Regions from separate parts of the Homo sapiens genome. Here regions 1, 2, 3 and 5 are each linked to region 4. The links are contacts of gene promoters, found by promoter capture Hi-C in human tissues and cell types (Jung and others, 2019). All regions are on one chromosome and are shown on one strand. Each heading gives the region's core, a stretch centred on a gene start or on the middle of the fragment in contact. The rest is flanking DNA. Distances are from core to core; before and after follow the strand shown.

Region 1 (2,700 bases), core at 122-2,621, 140 kb after region 4:
GTTTTTCTCCCAGCTGAAATCTCAAAGGCTGTATGATACATAAGTGTGGTTGTCAGCCTGAAAGATGGAGAGTATTCTGTGTAGTCCTGCTATTCATTAACCTTTAACAAATCAATTTCTGTTTCCGTCTAACCACTTTAAGCAGGAAGCTCTGTAAGTGTATTATCTTCTGGGTGATGTAGTTAGATTAAATTCAGCAGCTATCTGTTAAAGTCATGCTGTGTGGCAAGCATTGTGCTGGGCCCTTGACTAAGAGCCAGAGGGATCCATCGTAGCGCCTATACTCAAAAGGGCTTACATTCTTAGTGAGGGAACTGCAGGTGTATGTAAAACTACCTCTGAAAAGCAGAATGAAATAAGTCCTTCTTACTTGTTCTAAGTTGAAATTTTTCAAATTTTAGTGGTACTTATCTAGCATGCCATAAATAAGGGAGGGGAAAGTTTTGGAGCAGTAGTTTTCAAACTGTGTTCCATGGTGCCCCAGGGGGTTCCCAGAGATGCTTTGGAGGAGTAGATCACACAAACAGGTCTACCTCAGTCAGAGCAGCTCTCTTTTGAGTGTTATGTGTTGGCATTCCGAATAAGGTTTCTTTTGAGAAGGAATTTTAAAAAATATTTGAATAGCGACTACCTTAGGGGAATATTCTTTCAGGAAAGCCGAGGAGGGGAGAGGTTCAGTGGAGGCAAAGAATAACAACATAAAAAAGCCACTTTGAGATTTAAATTAATGTTTTGGTGTCTTAAAGGGATAAACTTCAAAAATAGATAAAAATTCTAATATATGGATTTTTTGGGTGTTAGGTAAAGCTTTAACTGTTTTACCTAAATTCATAAAGTTTTCTGAACAAGGAAGTTCTTTATGGTGGGGAAGTGTAATAGATTTTTGTAGTTTTGAAGAAATAACTTTTAATTAGCTAAATGTTGCTAGAAGTCTGACATTTTTTGGAGTCTTAGGATAAGGCTGTGTTGTTTTTTTTTTTTTGAGATGGGGTCTTGCTATGCTGTCCAGGCTGATCTTAAGATACTGGGCTCAAGTGATCCTTCTACCTCAGCCTCCCAAGTAGCTGGGATTACAGGCATATGCCACTGTGCCTGGCTTAGGCTGCTTTTGATTGACCACATTATTAAATGTGATTATTTGAGGACCAACCAGATGTCTTTGCAGAATATCTGTAGCCTAGGAATAAATATGTAGCAGCAAAATCTGAACACCATAGATCTCCTCTTAAGAACTGTCCTTTTCTTTACCCTACTCCTTTGACTCAACAATGACTCTGTCAAAGCCTCTTGTTTCTTCCTTTACTCTGTAATTGGCTGTATCTTCATGAATCTTAGGCTGCAGATAAAATTAATGTCCCTTATTTTCCTGCATGTTGGTTTGAAATTGTCCTGCTTTGGTTATGTCCTCAGTCTGCCCATCTTTCAAAGCCCAGATCAGGCCAAGTATGATGGCTCATGCCTCTAATCCCAGCACTTTGGGAGACTGAGGCGGGAGGATCTTTTAGGCCAGGAGTTCGAGATCAGACTGGGCAACGTAGCAAGACTGTGTTTCTACAAAACATAATGGAATATAAAATTAGCAAGGTGTGGTGGCACAGACCTGTAGAACTAACTACTTGGGCGGTGAGGTGGGAGGATGGGTTGACTCCAGGAGGTCAGGGCTGCAGAGAGCTATGGTCCCACCACTGCATTCTAACCTGGGAACAGAGTGAGACCCTATCTCAAAAAAAAAAAAAAAAAAGCCCGGATTAGATACCAGCTTTATCCATGTAGACTAGCTTGATGCCTACTTCTCCAGCCTAATGTCGTTTTTTCACCTTGAAAGTTTCACAAGACATTACTTGTTACTCCCCACCTGGTATTACAGTTTTTAGATTGTAAGCTCTGAGGGCAGCCTTGAACTACCTTTGTATCCCAGTAGTTCTTCTCACAGTACCTTGCACATTGTAGGTATTCAGTTAATGCTTGGTTGAGTGAATATATAACCAAATATCAGGGTTGTTTTTTTCATTTACTGTATCTGTCTCTTTGAGCTAGTTTGACCTCAGTGACCTTAAAGAAATTCCAGAAAAGAAGAAACTATGGATTATATTAAGATGACTGGAGGGCCAGGCACGGTGGCTCATGCCTGTAATCCCAGCACTTTGGGAGGCCAAGGTGGGCAGATCACCTGAGGTTAGGAGTTTAAGACCACCCTGGCCAACATGATGAAACCCTGTCTCTGCTAAAATACAAAAATTAGCCGGGCGTGGTGGCGGAAGCCTGTAATCTCAGCTACTCGGGAGGCTGAGGCAGGAGAATTGCTTGAACCTGGGAGGTGGAGCGTGCAGTGAGCCGAGATTGTGCCACTGCACTCCAGCCTGGGTGACAGAGCAAGACTCTGTCTCAAAAAAAAAAGAAAAAAAAAATTGAGCCGGAGCTGAGGAAATCTTTATTTCCTTTTTGTAATGCCTCTTCAGATGGCCACTCATTTTTTTGCCAGGTGTTATGGAAAAAATACAACACTACAACACTCAACTGCTTTTTCCTATTTTCTTACTCAACAACAATCAACACAGAAGACTTCTGTGACCAAGTGGGTGGGTTTTTTCCCCCACATACCAAGCAAGCAATGAGTTCTGCAGCAGACACCAGCTGGGTGCCCTCTGGTTCAATTCTGACACTGTTTACCTAGAGATAGCATCAGGTTCCCACAGATGG
Region 2 (2,700 bases), core at 155-2,654, 180 kb after region 4:
TTCAGATTCTTCCTTTTTTTCAAAAGAAGAAAATCATAAAAGTCAGAAGTCTGCATGATGCACAAGGTCTGGTTCTTAAAATCTGAATTTCTCCTCTAAAACCAAAGAAGAAATAGCAAATGAAACTGTGCTACTTGCTAGCTTTCAGTTCAGAAGATACTGACAACAAAACTTCATTTATTCACTATAATGTTAGGAAATAAGACATCCTATATGCATGGATTTACCAAAATAAGTAATGCCTATAAGCTGAGATGCCATAAAAAGCTTTTTTATTTCAGAAAAGAAATTGATCAAAAGGCATCTATTGATTTCTTCAGCAAGTATCCACTATATTCTATAAAACAGGGAGGTTTTCACAAGAAAAAATGTTTTTGTTGTTTTCTAAAGGTGAGTTTATTGAGATATAACTTACATGCAGTAAAATCACCCTTTTTAGTATACAGTTCTATGAGTTTTGACAGTTGTATTCAGTCGTGTAACCACCCCCACAAACAAGATAAAGAATAGTCCCAACACGTCCCAGATTCCCTCCTGCTTCTTTTGAGTCAATTCATACCTTTCCCTGACTCCCAGGCAACTACAATCTTATTTTTTTTAAGACAGGGCCTCACTATGTGGTCCAGGCTGGTCTTGAACTCCTGGGCTCAAGTTATCCTCCCACCTTGGCCTCACAAAGTGCTAGGATTATAGGTGTGAGCCACCATGCCTAGCTACAATCTTTTTTTTTTTTTATTAATAAATAAATACTAGTGATGCTACTGACATTACTGAGGAATCCTTTGTTTGACCCCATAATGAAAAGTCACACACCAGGGTCCAGCCAACCATGGCCCACAGGCTAAATTTGGCCCACTGTCTGTTTTTGTAAATAAAGTTTTATTTAAACACAGCCCTACCCATTCATTTACTTATTATCTATGGCTGCTTTCATGCTATAACAGCAGAGCTGAGTAGTTGCCACAGACACCTACAAAGCCTAAAATACAAAAAAACTTGCGGACTCCTGTTGTAGACTATTATGATTTTTCTTTTAGCAATGTTTCTGCTTTTTCCTTCAAAATATGCTACTACTTTTCAAAAGTATCTGTATAGAACAAATTTCCAGTTATCTTTTTCTGCTACTACTCTGCTCTGATTTGATACTAATGTGGCCTACTGTGGAGTCTAAGTAAAGAGCAACAGACTTTATGTTTGTTTGTTTTTGCCACACAGTCTCGCTCTGTCGCTAGGCTGGAGTGCAGTGGCGCAATCTCGGCTGACTGCAACCTCTGCCTCCCACGTTCAAGTGATTCTCCCGCCTCAGCCTCCAGAGTAGCTGGGACTACAGGTGCACACCACCACACCCAGCTAATTTTTGTATTTTTAGTAGAGATGGGGGTTTCACCATGTTGGCCAGGATGGTCTCGATCTCTTGACCTGGTGATCCGTCCACCTCAGCCTCCCAAACTGCTGGGATTATAGGCATGAGCCACCGCGCCTGGCTAGATTTTATGTTTTATACTCCTCACTTTTTAGACAACTCAGTTGAGATGGTTAAGTTTGCTGAATAAAGCTGGGCACAGTGGCTCACCCCTGTAATCCCAACACTTTGGGAGACGAGGTGGGCGGATCGCCTGAGCCAGGAGTTTGAGACCAACCTGGGCAATATGGCAAAACCTGGTCTCTACAAAAAATGTAAAAAATTAGCCAGGTATGGTGGCATTTGCCTGTAGTCTCAGCTACTCAGGAGGACGAAGTGGGAGAATCACCTGAGCCTCGGTGGTTGAAGCTACAGTGAGCCATAATAGCTCCACTGCACTCCAGCCTGGGCAACAAAGTGAGACCCTGTCTCCAAAAAAAAAAAAAAAAAAAAGTCTGCTGAATAATTGCATTGAGATAATGAAGACAGGCTATATTATACTGATGTTTACAATTTTATCACTCAAAATTATAATGACCCCTTCCAGGGATTGTAGTTCAAAAATTCCACTGTGAGCCCTTTGTGTTTTATATAACAGTACTAGTTTGCAATAAGTCAATTTACTAGGAGGATGCTTTCCTTAAGGCATAACTTTGCTGCTTTCTGAACACATTAGTGTTGATTTAGTACCTTCACTTAAGAAGATACCAATAGTGTAAAATGTAGTTTGTAGAAATTACAATGCATGCTGTGTCAGAGCCTGAAGAAAATCGAAGCACCTCAGTGGTTAATGTTGTTAACTTAGGGCAATGAAAAAGAATTGATCATTACCTGGCAAGGAATTGCACCACCCCATTCTTGCTGAACGATATTGCAAACACCAACTAATGCAGACTCCAAGCAGGTTTTGTCATAATCATCCATATTACTTAGTGCTTCCTTATTGAATAAAAGATAAAATTGCTAGTTACTCTTTAGTTTTAATTAGGTATTAGAAAACAACATAAATTGTTCAAAGTATGAATGTTACACAGGGGACACTGATGTATCTGAGAGCACCAAAGCATAGCTTCTTAAAGAAAAATGCTAGAACAGACTTCTTCAACTATTAAAGATAGTTAAAAGAATTCCATTTATTCTATCCTCTTATCAGGTAAGAGTGAACAGTCCACCAAGTTTACATTTTTGTTAAGTGGACTTTGAAGGAAAAAATTAAAAGGAACTTTTAAACACATCACAAAAATAATAACAAAATCTATTGAATATTAACTATGTTCTAAACACCATCCTAGGCACTT
Region 3 (2,700 bases), core at 172-2,671, 230 kb before region 4:
CCGCCACACCCAGCCAGCAAAGCCTTTTTTTTTTTTTTTTTTTTGAGACGGAGTCTTGCTCTGTCGCCCAGGCTGGAGTGCAGTGGCACAATCTTGCCTCACTGCAACCTCCGCCTCCTGGGTTCACGCCATTCTCCTGTCTCAGCCTCCTGAGTAGCTGGGACTACAGGCGTCCGCCACCACGCCTGGCTAATTTTTTGTATTTTTAATAGAGACGGGGTTTCACCATGTTAGCCAGGATGGTCTCGATCTCCTGACCTGGTGATCCACCCTCCTCGGCCCCCCAAAGTGCTGGGATTACAGGCGTGAGCCACAGGCGCCTGGCCAATTTTTGTATTTTTAGCCATGTTGGCCAGGCTGGTCTTGAACTCCTGACCTCAGGTGATCTGCTAGCCTCCGCCTCCCAAAGTGCTGGAATTGTAGGTGAGAGCGACCGCCCAAGGCCTTAGGACTGCCCTTTATATGCCACACCCCCACCATGGACACAGTTGACTGGACTAGAGGCAAACTGCAGCTGGGCCAACCAGATTGTCTCTCCAGGGAATTTGATTGGATAGCAGGATTGCCCTGTATTTCCCACCCCTGCCATGGCCACGGTTGATTGGACTAGAGGTGGAGCCCCAATTCAAACTGGGCCAATCAAATTCGGTCTTCAAGACAGGGCTATTCATTGACTTGAGATATAAATAGGGTGGCCACCTTCTTCTGTGAGCCCAGAGGAACAGAGAAAGCATATCTGCAAGCAGAACCAAGGGTTCCTGCAGAGAGGAAAGACCACACAGTGAGAGGGAGAGACTGCAACAGAGACAGGGGCTAAGAAGAGAGAGAAATTGGCCGGGTGCGGTGGCTCACGCCTGTAATCCCAGCACTTTGGGAGGCCGAGGCGGACGGATCACGAGGTCAGGAGATAGAGACCATTCTGGCTAACACGGTGAAACCCTGTCTCTACTAAAAATACAAAAAATTAGCCAGGCGTGGTGGCACCCGCCTGTAATCCCAGCTACTCGGGAGGGTGAGGCAGGAGAATCGGTTGAACGTGGGAGGTGGAGGATGCAGTGAGCCGAGATCGCACGACTGCACTCCAGCCTGGGCAACAGAGAGAGACTCCGTATCAAAAAACAAAAAACAAAACAAAACAAAACAAAAATAGCCTGGCATGGTGGCGGGCGCCTTTAATCTCGGCTACTCAGGAGGCTGAGGCAGGAGAATTGCTTGAACCCGGGGGGCGGAGGTTGCAGTGAGCCGAGATCGCGCCATTGCACTCCAGTCTGGGCAACAAGAGCACAGCTCCGTCTCAAAAAACAAAAACAAACAAACAAAAAAAAATAGAAATAAAGTCAGAGAGACAGTCTGAAAAACAGAGCATTGTAGGCCAGACGCGGTGGCTTACGCCTGTAATCCCAGCACTTTGGGAGGCCGCGGCGGGTGGATCACGAGGTCAGGACATCGAGACCATCCTGGCTAACACGGTGAAACTCTGCCTCTACTAAAAATACACACAAAAAAAGTTAGCCGGGCGTGGTGGCGGGCGCCTGTAGTCCCAGCTACTCGGGAGGTTGAGGCAGGAGAATGGCGTGGACCCGGGAGGCGGAGCTTGCAGTGAGCCGAGATGGCGCCACTGCATTCCAGCCTGGACAACAAAGCGAGACTCTGTCTCAAAAAAAAAAAAAGAAAAAAGAAAAGAAAAGAAAAAGAAAAACAGAGCATGTAACCCAAGATTGAATTAGAAATTGAGAGAACCAAAGCCACCGAGCATGAGAGAAGACAAGTTAATTGAAACCAGAAAGAGTGATTACCTGGATTCTGATGGCTCTGCAATTCTTGGTTCCAGTCCTTCCTGAGGTTACCTGGCACCCCTGTTACTTGTAATCAAAAGACTGCCAGTGCACAGTCCCACCTCTATTCTTTGGCTCTAGCCAACACCTTTACCTGAAACCCCATCTACCTCTAATTTTGCTTAAGTCCTCTCAATCCTTCCAGACTCTGTTCTTGTCCCAACATCTTGGTGACATTTTTCTCTTATCACGTCAGCTGCTAGAACTCTTTGAACTTGAGAGAACATTGTTTGAAAACTCCCTTGTTTGTAAGCAGAAGCAACCTGATCTGCCCATCTACCTGCCTGTTCCCCTCCTCCATGCCATATGGTACCGACCTTCACAGAATTCGCACTCAGTAACTGGGTGATCAGAAGGCTGAGACTGAAACGCTAGGGCTTTCCTGAGATGAGCATTTTGTCCATCCAGTGTGCAGTCTCCACAGGGGAACAACCGACAAATCAGCAGTGGTTTAATGAACTGAAAGCATCCTGGGAATGGTGCTATTAGCCTCACTGAAAATCATGAAAAGGGCTTTAGAAATCCTTCATTTATAGGTGAGTAAATTGAGGTCCAGGGGAAAGTTATGCAGCTAGCAAGGAGCACATTTGATTTTGGAGGCAAGACTCTTAGGAATTAAGTATCATGAGTTCAACTCAAGAATGCTGGCTAGGCCTGGCGGCAGTTCACACCTGTAATCCCAGCGCTTTGGGAGGCTGAGGTGGGTGGATCACCTGAGGTCAGGGGTTCAAGACCAGCCTGGCCAACATGGTGAAACCCTGTCTCTACTAAAAATACAAAAATTAGCTGGGCATGGAGGTGCACACCTGTAATCCCAGCTACTCGGGAGGCTGAGGCAGGAGAATCGCTGGAACCCCGGGGGCAG
Region 4 (2,700 bases), core at 172-2,671:
AGTTCCCGGCACTTTCCCACCCGCTGTTTGGTTTTCCTGGAGATGGGCCTGGGGCTGGCCAGGCGGAGGCTCCTTCCCCCCGCCTCCCTCCCACGTGGCCTGGCTGAGTCTCTCTGGAAAGCCGCAGCAGCTGGAGAGAAATCCCCCTCCCCACCCCCACCTCCAAGTCCCTCCCCGACTCTCCCCGGACACATCCTCAGCTCCCCCCTCCGCGGGGAAGGCAAGAACTAGGCGAACAAAGCGGCCAGCCCATCCCCCTCCCAGCCCTGCCACCTACACTCCCCATGAGCCGCCCCCAAACGCACACCGGACAGGAAGCGACAGAGCTGTGGGTGGAAGCCGCAGCCCTAGACACACACCCTTGGGGACTTCGCTATCCCCTCCCCAGCCCTTTCTCCAGCTTGGACAACTCTGACTTACCCCGTACCCACTCCGCACTGGGCTGCGGACTGGATGAGGCCCTGCTGACCTCGTCCACGCTTCCCTGGTCGGTCCCTGGGGGGTGGGGCCGGGGTGACACGCGTCCCATCGTGAGAACAAGCGCTGGACATGTCCACGAAAGCAAATGGTTTCCTGCCCCCTCCCCCAGTCCACTGCTGGCCACAGGTTTTGGGGAGCAACACCTCCCTCTACCCCTCTCTAACCGGCCCCAGGGACCACACCCACTGGGCAAAGTTGAGTGTTGTTTTATCACCACCACCCCCAGTCAAACGGGATCCATCGCTCTGTCCCCCACTATGGGCAAGGACACTTCCCAAATGCCAAGGCCAAATATTAGCTCAGCCCCATAAACACAATTGCACACGCACCCGACCCAAATGGAGGTGCAGACACAACCCCAGTTCCCTCCTCTTTTACACACACTCTCAACCCAAGACACGCGCAGGCAAGGCAGAGCCCGCCCCGCGAAAGCCACCGACACCGCAGCTACCCGCCCCGCCGATGCCACGCCGCGACCATGGCACGCACTGCGGACACGACAGGAGCACTCCCAACACACACACACACACACACACACACACACACACACACGACTCCAGACTCTGCGAACCAAAGGCACACACCCACTGCGGACAAGCACGCCCCACAAACGCCCCCCGGCCGCAGCTCGCAGACCCCCGCGCAGGCATCGCGGGCACCTGGACGCGCAGCCCCCGCACTTGCTCGGGACTCCGGCTTGAGCCAGCCCCGCAGCCCGATGCAGACCAGGGCGCGGGCGCACCAGCACTCCGCAGTCGCTCCTGCCTCTCCGGGCGCCCGCCCTTACCGCGCGCGGCCAACAGGCAGAAGGTCAACGCGAGGAGCCCGCGGCCGCGGCCGGCGTCCCCCCGCGCCATGGGGCTGGGCTCGGGCCGCCGCCGCCGCCGCCGCCTCCCCGTGCTTCGGCCGCCGCCGCGGGGGGAGAGCGCGCCGGGCGTCAGTGGCCCGGGGAGGCGCGGCGCCGCGGGCGGGGGCGCGGCCTCGGGGGCCCGGGCCCGAGCTGGGGCCGGCGCGGGGGCCAGGGCCGCTGCCGCCTCACCCGCCCCTCCATCGCCATCTTGGGCGAGCGGCCCGGGAGGGGGCGCCCGGCGAGTGTGGCCACCCTGGCCCCGCCGGGGACCCTGCGCCCGCGCGCCACGGCCCTGCGCCTCGCGGGGGCTCCTCTCGGCCCGGGTCTGTGTCCCGGTGCCTCGCCCTCTCCGGGTCGCCGCGGGCCCCCGTGAGGCCGCCTGTTGCTGGGTCTGTCTCTTAGTCTCCCCGTCTCTGAGTCTTCTGGTCTCTCTGCCTCAGCGTCTCTATTTCTTCTCCCTGTTGCTGCCTCGGGGTCTCCACCTCCGTTCCAGGCTCAGGGGAGGCAGATTCAGGGCCACGGTCTTTGTCCAGATGGCCCCCTTGCCACCCGAGCCCAGTCCATTCCAGCCCAGGTCCTGGCCTGAATGCTGGTTCGCTTCTCCACACGTTGCGCCAGCCCACCTGCGGAGATCTTGATAGTCCTATCTGCCATCCCAAACCAAGGGCTTCTCTTGGCCTCCTTCCCTTGCTCTGGCAGTAACTAACACAGGCAGGACACTTTTACACTACCTTCAAGCACTACCATATTCAGATGTCGCCGCATGGGGAAACTGAGGCTGGAGAAGGTGAAGTGACTTGCCCAAGGACAGGAGGCTAGGGAGCAGCAGATACAGGACCTGAACCTTGGTTTTCTGACTTCGGAAGGTCATCTCCACTCCCTCACCCTGCCTCTGCTGTCCAGCATTTACTGAAGTACCCTTTTTCTCATTCTTCAACGGTACTTTCTCTAACCTACCTAGCCAGACTGTTTGCCTCAGTATCCCGCAAATATTTCTTGTTCTACAGCCAAGGGTTCAATTGTCAGGCTAGGGTGGGGAAAAGAGTACAGATTCAATGACCTAGTTAAGGTCCTTTCCAACTCCAAGATGCCATAGTTCTTCCCTTCCCTGTGTCTCTAAGTGTTCCTGTGACTTAGAGCCATCTTGTCTCTACACCTGTCTGTTGTCAGTTAACCCTCAATAATCACTGGCGCTTTGCATATCTAACAGGCCTGGCGTTTATTCATTCATTGCCACGCCCCATCTTCACTTGCCCTATCAGCAGCATTTGACTTAGTGAATCACTCCCTCTTCCTTGAAACACTTGCTTCCCTTAGTGATCTCATCTGGTCCTCAAGGCTTTAAAGAGCATCTTTATGCTAATGATGCC
Region 5 (2,700 bases), core at 15-2,514, 200 kb after region 4:
ACTCTCTCAGGCTTGGTCAGGTGTACCGGGACCCAGAACTTGTACAATGCCCTGATAAGCTTCTTAGAGGAGGTGGGTATTAGCCACGATCGGATATTCTTCCCCTGAGCTGCCCTTCACACCCGACCCTGCCTTGAATTAGGATTCCATAGGAGAGCTGGGGGCAGGAGAATGGGGTGTTCCCTGCTGTCCAGCTTCAGACCCACTCTTTGAGATATTGGATTCTGACAAGTTTCCAGAGCTGAGAAGACAGCCAGATGTCAAGGTCTGAAGGTAAATGATGTAATTAGGTAGGAGGGATCAGCTGGGGTGCCAGTTCAGCTCTGTTACATAACACAGGAACATTAGAAAGAGAGAGACCCTCTGAAATTTCTGCTGGGGATACGAGTGGGCTTGCTGCAAAGTGTTGAGTTCATGGCAAGGATCGGGGGGCTGCAGGGAGATAGTGGAAAGAAAATTATAGAAATCAGGGACAAAGAAGGAAGTTCACTTATTCCTACTTTTCCTTTTGCTTGTCCCTCTCTTGCTTTTTAAGACAAGTACCTTTGCATCTCTGATTAGTGTGGCATGCAAGAAAGAAAGGGGAGTTAGGAGGCTCATCTGCTTGGCTACTCACTAGCTGTGTGATGTTAAGCAAGTCACATCTCCTCTCTGGACCTCTGTGTTTTCATATCTCAGATGAGGAGTTGTACCAGACAGATTCCATGGGTTACTCAGCTCACTTCTAATATATCATATGCAAAACTAATCATTTCCAGTTATTGTTTTGTAGTAGTTTGTGGACATTAATTAGAGATTTAATAAATAGTTACTTGGGCTGGGCCTCAATGCCCTTCTTTATAAAATGAGGATTCTTTGAGGGCCTTTCATGTTCTTCCCTCCTTCATTCTTGTATAAAACTAACCTTTCTGTTCAGTGCTTTTCTTTTTTTTTTTTCTTTGAGACAGAGTCTTGCTCTGTTGCTCAGGCTGGAGTGCAATGGTATGATCTCAACTCACTGCAACCTCTGCCTGCCAGGTTCAAGCAATTCTCCTGTCTCAGCCTCCTGTGTACCTGGGATTACAGGCATGCACCACCACGCCTGGCTAACTTTTGTATTTTTAGTAGAGATGGGGTTTCACCATGTTGGCCAGGCTGGTTTTGAACTCCTGACCTCAAGTGATCCGCCCACCTCAGCCTCCCAAAGTGCAGGGATTCCAAGCATGAGCCACCGTGCTCAGCCTGTTCAATGCTTTTCATATGTTTTTACTCGCTCAACATTCCTGTGACACTGTTATTATTCATATTCTAATTTAATTTAAATTAAAAATATTATAACATGCACATGATAAAAAGGTCAAACTAACAGAATATACAGTGAAAATAAGTCACCTTCTGACCTTTGATCCTCAGTTTCCCTTCCCCAGATGTCCTTCTAGAGATTATCTTTGCATAAACAATATATATGTTATCATGCCCATTTCACAGATGAGGCACCAAGGCTCAGCCTGTCCAGGATGACACAGCTGGTAAGCAGCAGAACAGGGAGTCTAGGCTTTCAACTCCATTCCCCATGATCCTCCCACCATGCCATATTCTCTGGGAAGCTCTATAACATTAACTTTTAAGCTTTGCCCACTCTGGATGGTGGAATTGTTTTAAGTCAGTTCAAAAAAATACATGGAGCCTTAATGTCCCTGGCAATGCCCTCCACTGCTGCCTCTTTTTGTCTATAGCTTAAAGCCATATCTCCCTACCTCCTTCCTGCCTTTGATAAGGTGAGACCTGTGGCCTGACACCAGCTATGGATGACTGAGCTCCCAGGATCTTAGGCTTGGACCTGAAGAGTACTGGCAGATCTTTTGCTGAGAGCCCAGGGAGGACTTGGTGGACTCCATAGTGCACTCAGGCTCCAGCTCAGGAACCTGGGGGGCTGGCATGCCTACATAGTACAGAGGACCCCTAGGCACTCTTTCTCTTAAGAGTAGGCATTTTCCTCTGGAGCAGGGGGCAGGAGTAGTTTACTCTTGCAAAGACCCCATGCATGATACTTTTGTGTTCCTGGGGCTTCTATTATCACTTTTTTCTATATGAGGGTGTTATGGATCCCAGATCTCCTCTTAGTGGTAAATAATCTCTTTTTTTTACCCACCTAGGGTTGTGGATACCCCCTGGCTGGGCTTCATGGAGAAATCTTCTCTGATCACCAACCTGAATCCCAGAGTAGCCTCCATCTTAGGACAGAATGAGAGGCCTTCTGTAACCAGATATAACTGGCCAGCATGGGGAAATTGATCAGGATGGGGCCGCAAGAGAGGTGGTTACTCCGGACAAAGCGGCTTCATTGGAGTCGCCTCCTCTTCTTACTGGGAATGTTGATCATCGGTTCTACTTATCAGCACCTTAGGAGACCCCGGGGCCTTTCCTCATTGTGGGCAGCAGTCTCTTCTCATCAGCCTATAAAACTGGCCAGTCGGGACCTCTCCAGTGAAGAGATGATGATGATGAGCAGCAGCCCTTCAAAACCTAGCTCCGAAATGGGGGGTAAGATGCTGGTACCCCAAGCCTCAGTGGGCAGTGATGAAGCAACACTGAGCATGACAGTGGAGAATATCCCCAGTATGCCTAAAAGAACAGCCAAGATGATCCCAACAACAACCAAGAATAATTACAGCCCAACAGCAGCAGGTACAGAAAGAAGGAAGGAAGACACCCCAACAT

Evidence for each region. The method cuts DNA at HindIII sites, captures the fragments that hold promoters and counts their contacts. A contact is called where the count stands out against the background at its distance.
Region 1: a fragment that was not itself captured here is called in contact with the fragment with the promoter of IGDCC4 in region 4 in 2 of the 25 tissues and cell types used here (heart right ventricle and mesenchymal stem cells).
Region 2: a contact is called between a fragment that was not itself captured here and the fragment with the promoter of IGDCC4 in region 4, in 2 of the 25 tissues and cell types used here (adrenal gland and mesenchymal stem cells).
Region 3: a contact is called between a fragment that was not itself captured here and the fragment with the promoter of IGDCC4 in region 4, in 1 of the 25 tissues and cell types used here (mesenchymal stem cells).
Region 5: a contact is called between a fragment that was not itself captured here and the fragment with the promoter of IGDCC4 in region 4, in 1 of the 25 tissues and cell types used here (spleen).

Annotation. Positions count from the first base shown.
Region 1 is chr15:65,559,079-65,561,778 of GRCh38, forward strand. All of the region lies in intron 5 of HACD3 (3-hydroxyacyl-CoA dehydratase 3), which reads left to right. Among named protein-coding and RNA genes, the nearest start is that of HACD3, 30 kb to the left of the region's middle. The HindIII fragment of the contact is 6,557 bases long and covers 1-2,700 here.
Region 2 is chr15:65,602,896-65,605,595 of GRCh38, forward strand. It overlaps INTS14 (integrator complex subunit 14), which reads right to left. Exons shown (of 12, transcript NM_001394796.1): 3 at 2,234-2,341. Among named protein-coding and RNA genes, the nearest start is that of INTS14, 6.9 kb to the right of the region's middle. The HindIII fragment of the contact is 4,583 bases long and covers 1-2,700 here.
Region 3 is chr15:65,191,657-65,194,356 of GRCh38, forward strand. No RefSeq gene overlaps it. Among named protein-coding and RNA genes, the nearest start is that of CLPX, 7.7 kb to the left of the region's middle. RefSeq lists an enhancer at 415-709. The HindIII fragment of the contact is 3,805 bases long and covers 1-2,700 here.
Region 4 is chr15:65,421,526-65,424,225 of GRCh38, forward strand. It overlaps IGDCC4 (immunoglobulin superfamily DCC subclass member 4), which reads right to left and starts at 1,422. Exons shown (of 20, transcript NM_020962.3): 1 at 1,268-1,422. The coding sequence starts at 1,337. RefSeq lists enhancers at 325-434, 455-724, 1,700-2,234. The HindIII fragment of the contact is 12,230 bases long and covers 1-2,700 here.
Region 5 is chr15:65,621,820-65,624,519 of GRCh38, forward strand. SLC24A1 (solute carrier family 24 member 1) reads left to right here and starts at 119. Exons shown (of 10, transcript NM_004727.3): 1 at 119-273; 2 at 2,136-2,700. The coding sequence starts at 2,262. LOC102723464 (a long non-coding RNA gene) reads right to left here and starts at 2,140. Exons shown (of 2, transcript XR_932375.3): 1 at 1-2,140. The HindIII fragment of the contact is 5,071 bases long and covers 1-2,700 here.